3 separate regions of the Homo sapiens genome follow, and regions 2 and 3 are each linked to region 1. Evidence: promoter capture Hi-C in human tissues and cell types (Jung and others, 2019). All regions are on one chromosome and are shown on one strand. Each heading gives the region's core, a stretch centred on a gene start or on the middle of the fragment in contact. The rest is flanking DNA. Distances are from core to core; before and after follow the strand shown.

Region 1 (3,803 bases), core at 562-3,061:
GAACAGGGACAAACAGGAACACCTGCTTGATTGGCCCCTCCCTATGCACACCCAGTAGTTTCAGGGAGTTGAAACAACCTCATAGGAGGGCAGACTTTGGTGGGGAGGGCAAGTCATAGTAAACACAATACCCCGCTCATTCAAGATAAGGCTCAGCAACTGCACAAGTTAACCAAGAGGCTCAACATTTGCCACAAATCCTGTGCCCCAGGCATAGGTCAAGACCCCACAGCAACCTCTGAGCTATGAGAACCGAATCCATGGGTTTGCAGATCCCACTGGATGAAAATGGGAAACAAGAATTATCCAGTGTAGGGTAAGATAAGAAGAATAGAGGTTATGTCACTAAGGATAAAATAGCTCCAGCCTGAGCAACATGGCGAGACCCCATCTCTACAAAAAAAAAAACACACAAAACAAAACAAAAAAAAACTTATCTAGGCATGGTGGCGCATGCCTGTAGTCCCAGCTACTCTGGAGGCTGATGTGGGAGGATTGCTTGAGCCCGGGAGGTTAAGGCTGCAGTGATCCATGATAGTGCCACTGCACAGTAGCCTAAATGTCAGAGCAAGACCCCATCTCAAAGAATAAAATAAAATAGCTGTCAACAGACACATTCCACATGACAACTTAAGGAGTCAAAATTCACTGAATGAAGTGTAGCCGAGCCCAACAGCATTGCTGGCAACCCTGATGACTGAAGGCACTCCAGAGTTTATAATCTATCATTATGATCATCGGTTAGCTTCCTGCAGTGCTTACTGATTCTGGGATTAGATGTACTTGAGATTGCCTGGATTCAGGATAAACGGGCACTTGATCTACATCCGTTGGCACCTTTTGCCAGCTTTCATGCCAGGAATGCCAGGAGAATTCTGCAGATTCACCTGCAGCTGACAGAGGTCAGGTCTCAAGCACCCAAATTCGCAAGGCCATTTTTGAAAACCCAGGGAAAGAACATCTTTAACCTTCCTTGAATATCCCCCTTTGAAATTTGAGCACCCCAAAGCATAGACTTCCTGATCTGGTTTATAAACTGTTTCAGTGACAGCATTCCAAGTTAAAAGAAATCTAAGTTTTTAATGAGGAAGCATCTTGAACTGTCATTCAAAAGAGTGACACTCCACCTCCTTCCAGAAGGGGTTTGAGGCAGTCTATGGTGAAAGACACAAATACTTCAGGACCATTAAAGCAAGGATCAGGAGACAGGCGTGGGGTAGCGGAGGACTCCAAAGGCAGATAATTGTGTCTAAAACCTGGAGTAAAGAGTGTGGCTGCAATTGAGCAAGAAAGCAAAATGTTATCAATTTCCCGGCAATTACATTGAATCAGTTCTGAGTGATCAATGAGCAGTATTGATTTGCACAGCCACTTGGCTCATCTCTGATCCATGGCAGAATCCCATCGCTGACAGGAAAATCGAGCCAACTCACGTTTGCCCCCGAAGCCTGCCCACGCATCCTCGAAGGAGCACTGAGACCTCACCACCTGCGACAGACACCTGGAGCCAGTCCGCCACGCGCCCAAGTTAAGACAAGCCCCAAACAGCACCATCAAAAGCCTATTCCAGAGCCCCTATTGAGGGGTGATTTTATCCAGAGAGGGGCTCAAATGTACTCACCAGTCCATGGGCAAAGAGGATGGCGGTGGGCCTCTTGGACTCAGTGTTTCTAAGTTGGTGAGAAGGTTAACTTTTCTTACCCCCACCCAGCCTAGCCCCCCCAGGGCCACCCCTCTCACCTGATGCGGCAGATATCCCTCTGCTCCGAGGCACTGCTCAAATCCAGGGGCCCTGGGCTGGGTGTTTGCTCTGGCAGCCGCCTGGCGTTCCCATCATTTATCTCTTCATTTTCCTAAGCGTTGTCAGCGTCAGAGAATCAATTACCCACAAGTCAACCAAAGGACTGTTTTTAGCATCATATCACACTGACAAACCCTGTTGGTGAAAGAGGTTTGGCCCCTTGCAGACTTAGACTCCTGGTAAAGTCTCCTTTTATCTTTGGCACAGTGGACATAGTACAAAGGTGTAACATTATTCCAAGAGGATATAGAGAATATATACTGCTATAATAGTGATTGGAGAACTCGGCTGGGCGCGGTGGCTCACACCTGCCATCCTAGCACTTTGGGAGGCTGAGGCGGGTGGATTGCCTGAGCTCAGAAGTTTGAGACCAACCTGGGCAACATAATGAGACCCTGTCTCTAGAAAAAAATTAAAAATTAGCTGGGCATGTTGGCACATGGGTATAGTCCCAGCTACTCAGGTGGCTGAGGCAAGAGTGTCACCTGAGCCTGGGAGGCGGAGGTTGCAGTGAGCCAAGACCACGCTATGGCACTCCAGCCTGGGTGACAGAGCACGACTCTATCTCAAAATATATATTTTTTAAAAAAAGAAAAAATATGTGTTAAAAATAATTGGAGAACTCATAACAGTGAAACACCAAGAGTTTATTGATTCTCCAAGATAAATGTGCCTTTTCAAAAGTTCATATAATTTAGCTTTGTCCCTGTGTAATTTTATTTCACTTTTGGGTAGACAACATTATGAATAAGCGTTATTCTCTCCTTAGTGGGGAATTTGTTCCCTATCTCCCTTGTCGTCCAATTATCAGAATTCTGCACTATTTGATTTACACCTGCTTGGTCACAGGCTGATTTCAACAGCTAGCCTGGGGGCATCCGTCGTCACCTGTCAAGGCAGCCAGACATTGGCAGTTGCCTCAGAGAAGTGTGAAATGAGAGGGAAGAGATGGAAAACCTTGGGAGAGTTGTTGTGTTTCCAGATTTCTCTAGCCTATAGCTAAGAAATCCTCAGGAATGACATAAAAGCACAGGAGGCAGAAGCTCTGGTTTCCCAGGCGGCCGTCGTGGAGGTGTGGAAAGAGCTCCAAGCCTCGAGTCTAGGGACCTGCTGCCTCTCCCAAGCCTGTCAATCATGACCTCTGTGACCCTTAGGAAGTTACTTCTACCTGGCTGGGTGCAGTGGCTCACACCTGTAATCCCAGCACTTTGGGAGGCTGAGGCGGGTGGATCATGAGGTCAGGGGTTCGAGACCAGCCTGACCAACATGGTGAAACCCCGTCTCTACTAAAAATACAAAAATTAGCTGGGTGTGGTAGTGGGCACCTGTAATCCCAGCTACTCAGGAGGCTGAGGCAGGAGAATTGCTTGAACCCGGGAGGTGGAGGTTGCAGTGAGCCGAGATCGTGCCACTGCACTCCAGCCTGGGCGACAGAGCGAGACTCTGTCTCAAAAAAAGAAAAAAAACTTCTACCCTCCGGGCCTCAGTTTCTACCTGGAAACTTGAGAGTTGACATAGAACAGCAACTTTCAAACTATTTTTTTGAGAGGGATCCTATCTTTGCCACCCAGGTTGGAGTGCAGTGGCATAATCTCGACTCATTGCAACCTCCACCTCCCGGGTTCAAATGATTCTCCTGCCTTAGCCTCCAGAGTAGCTGGGATTACAGGTGCGTACCACCACGCCTGGCTAAGTTTTGTATTTTAGTAGAGATGGGATTTCACCATGTTGGCCAGGTTGGTCTCAAACTTCTGACCTCAGGTGATCCACGTGCTTCTGCCTCCCAAAGCACTGGGATGACAGGTGTGAGCCACCACACCCAGCCCAAACATTTTTTAAAAAGTAGCAAAACTCTTTCTTTGGAAACCTACAGAGACAGGTTTTTAATATGGGGCTACTCTGGTTGAAGAGGGGGAAGTGGAGACCCCCTTGCCTATCCCTGAGGTACCTCGATGGGTCACAATTACAAGCCAGTAATTTCCAAGAGTCCCCTTAGCAACAC
Region 2 (3,803 bases), core at 635-3,134, 450 kb after region 1:
GCCTGTCCTTTGAAGCTTTGAGGCCAGGCATTGACTTCTCTCTAGCTGTGAAAATCCTAGATGGCCTCTTCTTCCAACAGAAGGCTGTTTTGTCAACATTGAAAATCTGTTGTTTAGTGTAGCCACCTTCATCAATGATCTTAGCTAATTCTTCTGACTAACTTGCTGCAGCTTCTACATCAGCACTTCTGGGTTCACCTTGCGCTTTCATGTTATGGAAGTGGCTTCTTTCCTTAAGCCTTATGAATAAGCCTCTGCTAGCTTCAAACTTTGTGTGCAGCTTCCTCACCTCTCTTAGCCTTCATAGAACTGAAGAGAGTTAGGGCCTTGCTCTGGATTAGGCTTGGCTCAAGAGAATGTTGTGACTGGTTTGATCTTCTGTCCAGAGCACTAAGACTTTCTCCATATAAGCAGTAAGGCTCTTTAGCTCTTTTACTATTCATATGTTTACTGGAGTAGCACTTTTAATATCCTTCAAGAGCTTTTCCTGTGCATTCACGCTTTTCTGTCTGGTATAACAGGCCTCGCTTTCGGCCCATTGCCGCTTTCAACATCCTTTCCTCACTAAAGCTTAATCATGTATAGCTTTTGATTTAAAGTGAGAGATGTGAGACTCTTTCTTTCACTTGAACACTTAGGGCCATTGTAGGGTTATTAATTACTTAATTGCAGTATTGTTGTGTCTCAGAGAATAGGGAGACCTGAGGAGAGAGAGAGAGAGAGAGAAAGAGGAAAGGCTGGTTGAGGCACTCAGAACACACACATTTATTCATTAAGTTCGCTGTCTCACGTGGGCGTGTTTGTAGTGCCTGAAAACAAAGTAGTAATATTAAAGATCACTCATCACGGATTACCATAGCAGATATGATAATAATGAAAAAGTTTGAAACATTGCAGTAATTGTCAAAATGTGACACAGACATGAAGTGAACACATGATTTTGGAAAAATGGCAGCGATAGACTTTCTTTTTTTTTTTTTTGGAGGTAGAGTCTGGCTCTATTGCCCAGGCTGGAGTACAGCAGCAGGATCATGGTTCCCTGCAGCCTTGACCTCATGGGCTCGAGCAATCCCAGATTAGCTGGGACTACAGGTGTGTGCCACCATGCCCAGCTAATTTTTGTATTTTTTGTAGAGATGGGGTTTTGGCATGTTGCCCAGTCTGGTCTGAAACTCTTGGGCTCAAGTGATCTGCCCACCTCAGCCTCCCAAAGTGTTGGGATTACAGGTGTGAGCCACCGCGCCCAGCTGATAGACTTTCTTGATGCGGGGTTTCTATAAATCTTCAATTTGTAAAAAGCACAGTATCTGCAAAGGGGGAAAAAAATGAGGTATGCTTGTAGTTCAGAACTAGTTTCTTTTCCATAGAATTCCAGCAGTGACTGATCTGAAAATGTTTTAGCCTAAACTTTAGAATTCCAGCTCCATTGTGGGTTGGTAAATGGAAATTAGCTTTTCTTCATCCTGGAGTTCAGTGAAGGATCTAGTGAGACTACTGCAGTGCCTTTCTATCTTTTAACTCACTTTGGATTATCAGCTGCTTGTAAGCAGATTATGTGCACTGGCTCTTTGTACTTCCTTTCAACAGCTACCCAGCAATATCTAGAGTCACTGAACTAAGAAGGAGTTGAAACTGGCCAGGCGCGGTGGCTCACACCTGTAATCCCAGCACTTTGGGACGCCGAGGTGGGCGAATTATGAGGTCAAGAGATCGAGACCATCCTGGCCAACATGGTGAAACCCTGTCTCTACTGAAAATACAAAAATTAGTTGGGCATGGTAGCATGCACCTGTAGTGCCAGCTACTCAGGAGGCTGAGACAGGAGAATTGCTTGAACCTGGGAGGTGGAGGGTGCAGTGAGCCGAGATCGCGCCACTGCACTCCAGCCTGGCAACAGAGCAAGACTCCGTCCAAAAAAACAAACAAAAAAAAAGAGGGAGTTGAAACCAAGCAGAGTATCATGATGCTTCTCTCTGAATATATCTGACTTTATTCCAAAAGCAGGCATGATTGATTCTTGAACAGTTTTGCTGGCATTATTTTTAGTGCAGATTCTAGCTTCATGTTTGGCATTATTCATGTGCTCATTCTGTTAATACATAAAATTGAGGGTTGATGACATTTCTTTATTTGAATCCCCTATTTCCAGTTAAGAGCATCTCAGTTTAAATTTTCTTTTGGGATCCTTGATAGAGTTAAACATTAGCAGCACACCAGTCCTCTGCTGGTATATAATGTTGGAATGCGATTTTCTTTGCAGCTTTGTATAAAAAGAAACAAATTGTAGCTACAGTTTGTCATGTTATCTTTTAGCAGACGCTCTCAACATCAATGCTTCCATAATAGGATTAATGATGGGGGAAACTTTTGAGCATCTCAAGCTTGCATAGTTATTCACAGAGAAGCTGAAACACGTAATGGGGGCTCTGGCCAGGAGTACCTCTATTGGGCAAGGGAAGGTAGAGATGCCGAAGGACTAACAGAATAGTGAAACTCGGCAATAAAGGAGGACACGAAAAAGACATTGCGATTGATTGAGGGTTGTAGCTGAAAGAAACCCATAATGAGATTCCTTTTTTAAAAAAGGTGGCACAGATTGTATTGAATTGTACTAACTTCTTGTTTCTCTGGTGTCTTTGGAAAATGTGATGCCCTTCAGAAACAGACTTTCCAGGTAACTGAAGCTTTTAAGTGGCAAGACGATCTATTCCAGCTTCTTCTTTGTACACATGGGTAAACCAGAGAGCCCAGAGAGGGAAATAACTTTAGCACCCCAACAACTTGGTGACAAAATCGGGGTCAGGCAGTGCTGTGTCCTTGATTATGCGTCCTCTTTTCCATGTGCAAAACATGTATTTTTCATCATTTTGTATGGAGAGCTTTCTAAAACATGAACATTCTTGCCTTTCTCAGTAGGACACACTGTGATCTCAGGAGCATCATTATGAATACATGTTAGTTGTGCCTGAATTCTCTCATGACCTTTTGAAATCTGGAAAGCTTTTACTTCTGCACTGTGGAATAGTAGGGATTTTGAGTTCTTGTGCCTACTTTGTGTAGTTTACATTCTTTTCCTTGGTGTCAGCTGTCACTCCTTAGTGTTATTGTTTGTTTGATATGATATCTAACCTCTAAGGCCTTTTTTGCCCATTCTTTTAATGGTGTTTTGAAAAGTTGAGGTTGTTGGAAGAATGAAGCATTCGTATTCTTGGTCATTTTTGGATGAACTGCAAAACTTTTTAGAGCTCTGTTGCTAGATTCCGAAGTCTGTGAGATACTAGAAATCATTTTAGCCTGAGTAGTCTATATTTTCCATGTTGCTTTTCCTCTAGCATCTCTTTGCCCCCCCCACTGCCATCCTGGGAACTAGAGAACATCTGAGCAATTACTGTTGTCCACTAATCATGAGTCTTTCAAGTGAAACTACCACTCACAAATAGGGGCTTAACCTGGCCTTCTGTGGGGTGCTCCTTTCTTTCATGATGCTTATCTTTCTGGAAGGTAGCCATTTACCTGTCTGATTGCCTTAACCCTGTATCTTTTAGTCAGCCTTATATCCATATACACACACCCACAGGCCCGTGAAATCTAATTATATCGATCACCTGAGACCCTGTATGTTTGTTCTTCACCAGTTTATGCCTCTGCTCACTTCTTGTCTTGTGCCTGACTCTTGGCTCTCTGTCATACCCTACCTCTGCTTTCGTCTCCTCTCCAACACACACACCAGTTTCTTTAGGCTTGATATGTACATGTGCTCTGTGGCTCCCAACCCAGAGTCTATTATTAAGGGCTCTGCATGG
Region 3 (3,803 bases), core at 971-3,470, 320 kb after region 1:
CAGCCCCACAGCGCTACCTCCATGCAGTAGTGCCCTCTGGCTTACAGGGGGAAACAGGAAACCACAGCTGGGATGTGAATTCTCAGCCTGAGTGCCCTGTGCTTCCCTGGAGGGGAACTCAAGTTCCTCTTTTGTGTCAGAGATGAAAGTCTGAGCTACAGTAGGTGGGGAGCTTGGAGTGATTTGTGTGTCTCTCTTTCCTCTCACCCTCCCTTCCTCCTTGCTCTTGGTCTCACTGTTAGCCCCCAGCTGGCTGTGTCTGGGGCTCCCTTTTCTCCTCTACCTTGCACTCCAGCTGACCATCTCGTTTCTGGATCCTTCTCTTTGCTCATCATCTTTCCTCAAACTCTCTCTCTCTCTTTCTTTTTTTTTCTTTTGAGACAGAGCCTCATTCTGTCACCCAGACTGGAGTGCAGTGGCACAATCTCAGCTCACTGCAGCCTCTGCCTCCTGGGTTCAAGTGATTCTCATGCCTCAGCCTCCTGAGTAGCTGGGACTACACGTGTGCACCACCACGCCCGGCTAATTTTTGTATTTTTAGTAGAGATGGGGTTTCGCCATGTTGGTCAGGCTGGTCTCAAACTCCTGGCCTCAGGTGATCCACCTGCCTCGGCCTCCCAGAGTGTTGGGTGTGAGCCACTGCACTGGGTCCTCAAACTCTTCCTCTGACTTTGTCAGTTTCTTCCCCCTACTCTCGTCTTTCCCACTCCTTGTCTCTGTCTCTCCCTCCCTCCTTCTCTTATCATCCTCCAGATCTCTGCCCAAGCACCACCTTTTCCAAGAAGCCCTCCCTGACCCTCCAGGCCTAACTTATGTCCCCGTGTCCTCCTGGAAACCATGCTCCTTGCCTTCAGAGCCCCCACTTCTACTTGCAGTGAGTAATTACAAACCAGAGTCTGTCTCCCCACCAGCATGTGAGTTCCTTGTTTGCCTTGCTCACTGCCATATCCTCAGTGCCTGGCATACAGTGAGTGCTTAATAGATGTTCCTGGTGTAATTGCCTTTCTCTCTGCCCCTTCTAGTCTCTCTGCTTTGTCCTAGCTGCCCGGATGACCTAGCCAGAGGCTTCTCCACTTGTCTCTCATCCTGCTCTTCACTTCCCTGTCTCCACAGCTCTTGGTGGCCCAGGGTGGGCCTTGGCCTTCAGCCTGCTGACCCAGGACCCTCACTCCTTCCATAGTGGGGACCAGTGCCTGTCTGAGCCCCATCATGATCCCACTGGGAGGTACTTGTTATAACTGGTTAGAGGAATGAATGATACAAAGAGAAAGGATTTGCCATTTCAATCCCAGCCATCTCTGCTTGACATACCTTGTGACCCTGCGCAAGTCACCTCATCTTTTGAGTTTCTCTTTCTCCATCTGTGAAACTGACTGGAGATCAGCAAAGACATTCCATGGGAACCTGCTTTGTAACCCATGAAGTGCCTTGTTGGTACCTGTGACTACCAGATGTTAGTATAACGTTTTCCTTCCCTCTCTGGGCACTAAGACACATGAAGTTCAATTTGCAGCCCCCAGGAGCCCAGGCTGGGGTGCTTGGGGTGCTGGGGCTCTTCAATGATGGCAACTAGGGGAAGGACAAAGTTGGTGTTTAAAACCAAATTCATTAATGTGTGTATCATTGAGCAGGGATCCTCAACCCCCAGGCCACATAGCAGGAGGTGAGCGGGGGACAAGCAAGCAAAGCTTCATCTGTATTTACAGCTGCTCCCCATTGCTCACATTACTGCCTGAGCTCCACCTCCTGTCAGATCAGTGGTGGCATTAGATTCTCACAGGAGGGCGAACCCTATTGTGAACTGTGCATGCGAGGGATCTAGGTTGCACACTCCTTATGAGAATCTAACGCCTGATGATCTGTCACTGTCTCCCATCACCCCCAGATGGGACCATCTAGTTGTAGGAAAACAAGCTCAGGGCTCTTACTGATTCTACATTATGGTGAGTTGTATAATTATTTCATTCTATATTACAATGTGATAGAAATAGAGTGCACGATAAATGTAATGTGCTTTAATCATCCGGGAATCATCCTGAAACCTTCCTTCCCCCAACCCCACACCGGTCCTTGGAAAAATTGTCTTCCATGAAAGCTGTCCCTTGTGCCACAAAGATTGGGGACCACTGTTACTGAGCACCTACTATGTGCCAGGCACTGTTTAGGGCTCTAGGGCTATATCAGCAAACAAATTAGAACTCTGCTCCTAGTTCCTAACGCAGTCATTGCACCATCCATGACTTCAACAGATATGCATTGAGCACCTACTGTGTGCTGGGCACAGCGGAGGCCTTGGGATGGAGAAGTGAATGAGACCTGCCCTCACAAGTGCATATTTGGTGCTCCATCTCTGTTCAGTGCTTAGTGCCTTTCCACGCTCCAATATTTTACCTTTGGCCTGCCCAACTAAAGTGATGAGAGCAATTGCAGATTAGGTGACTTGCTGAAGGTCACGTGTGCTGGAAATTGGAAGAGCTGAATCAAAACTCAGATCTGTTTGAGTCTAGGGCCCTAACTCTTTGGGTATCTTGGGTTGTATCTATCCTCTGTTTACAAGTCTCTCTCTCTCTCTTTTTTTTTTTTGAGATGGAGTCTCGCTCTGTTGCCCAGGCTGGAGTGTAGTGGCACCATCTCGGCTCACTGCAACTTCCGCCTTCCAGGTGATTCCAAGTGATTCTCCTGCCTCAGCTTCCCAAGTCGCTGAGATTACAGGCATGTGCCACCAAGCCTAAGTTTTGTATTTTTCGTGGAGACGGGGTTTCACCATGTTGGCCAGGCTGGTCTCAAACTTCTGACCTCAGGTGATCCATCTGGCTTGGCCTCCCAAAGTGCTAGGATTACAGGCATGAGCCATCGCACCTGGCCCCAAGTCTCATTTTCCCTGTCTGTACCCTGAGTAACCTTGGAGACCATCCAGCGACGTGGATCAGTGAGAGGAGTGTTGGGGCCAGTGAAGCCGGGGAAGGGGTGCCCAAACTAACATCCCTTCTCCACCAGCAGCCAGGCCAGCTCAGCCTCTGTGCAACTTTCCCTGCTTCTGAGTCTGGAGGTGGTTCTTATTATTGGCTCCAAATGACTTTTGCATCCATTTATTTGCTGCATTTTGATTTTGCATTCAATCTCTGGTCCATTCATGGTGTCTGCGCTACCTAGGGGATGCAAAATTGAGGCAGCCAGGAGTGCAGTTTGGACACGCCTGACAGCCACCACTCCTTGGAGGGAGGAACGCTTGACTGACTCCACAGTGGAAAGGCTGATGAGCAGGAGGCTGCCCCGCCACTGCCCCCTACTCCAGCCAGAATCTGCCAGATGGGCTTCCCACCCCGAAGCTGGCTTCTCCACTCCCCCGGCTCCAACACACATATCTCAGCTGGAGAGATGGCCACTGGGAACCCAGCCAGTACCTGGGGCCTGTAAGCAGGGCAGGCACTAGACTTCATAAAGGATTTGAAATCCTTCAGGGCTATGCAGGAGCATTTGGGCAGAGAGAGCAGAATATGAGTCCCAACTTGGTCCCGCCAACCTCTCTTCTTCATTCACCTTTAGTGGTGTTGTTTTGTTTCATTTTGTTTTGAGGTGGAGTCTCACTCTCTTACCCAGGCTGGAGTGCAGTGGTGTGATCTTGGCTCACTGCAACCTCCACCTTCTGGGTTCAAGTGATTCTTCTGCCTCAGCCTTCCGAGTAGCTGGGACTACAGGCATGCACCACCACACCTGGCTAATTTTTGTATTTTTAGTAGAGACAGGGTTTGGCCATGTTGGCCAGGCTGATCTCGAACTCCTGACTTCAGGTGATCCACACA

What was found. The method cuts DNA at HindIII sites, captures the fragments that hold promoters and counts their contacts. A contact is called where the count stands out against the background at its distance.
Region 2: a contact is called between a fragment that was not itself captured here and the fragment with the promoter of GHRH in region 1, in 1 of the 25 tissues and cell types used here (H1 embryonic stem cells).
Region 3: a contact is called between a fragment that was not itself captured here and the fragment with the promoter of GHRH in region 1, in 1 of the 25 tissues and cell types used here (thymus).

Annotation. Positions count from the first base shown.
Region 1 is chr20:37,260,003-37,263,805 of GRCh38, forward strand. It overlaps GHRH (growth hormone releasing hormone), which reads right to left and starts at 1,812. Exons shown (of 5, transcript NM_021081.6): 1 at 1,741-1,812. The HindIII fragment of the contact is 8,848 bases long and covers 1-3,803 here.
Region 2 is chr20:37,707,223-37,711,025 of GRCh38, forward strand. The region is part of intron 1 of CTNNBL1 (catenin beta like 1); the gene reads left to right. Among named protein-coding and RNA genes, the nearest start is that of CTNNBL1, 15 kb to the left of the region's middle. The HindIII fragment of the contact is 3,185 bases long and covers 293-3,477 here.
Region 3 is chr20:37,575,987-37,579,789 of GRCh38, forward strand. The region is part of intron 2 of LINC01746 (long intergenic non-protein coding RNA 1746); the gene reads left to right. Among named protein-coding and RNA genes, the nearest start is that of LINC01746, 6.8 kb to the left of the region's middle. RefSeq lists an enhancer at 262-311. The HindIII fragment of the contact is 3,072 bases long and covers 685-3,756 here.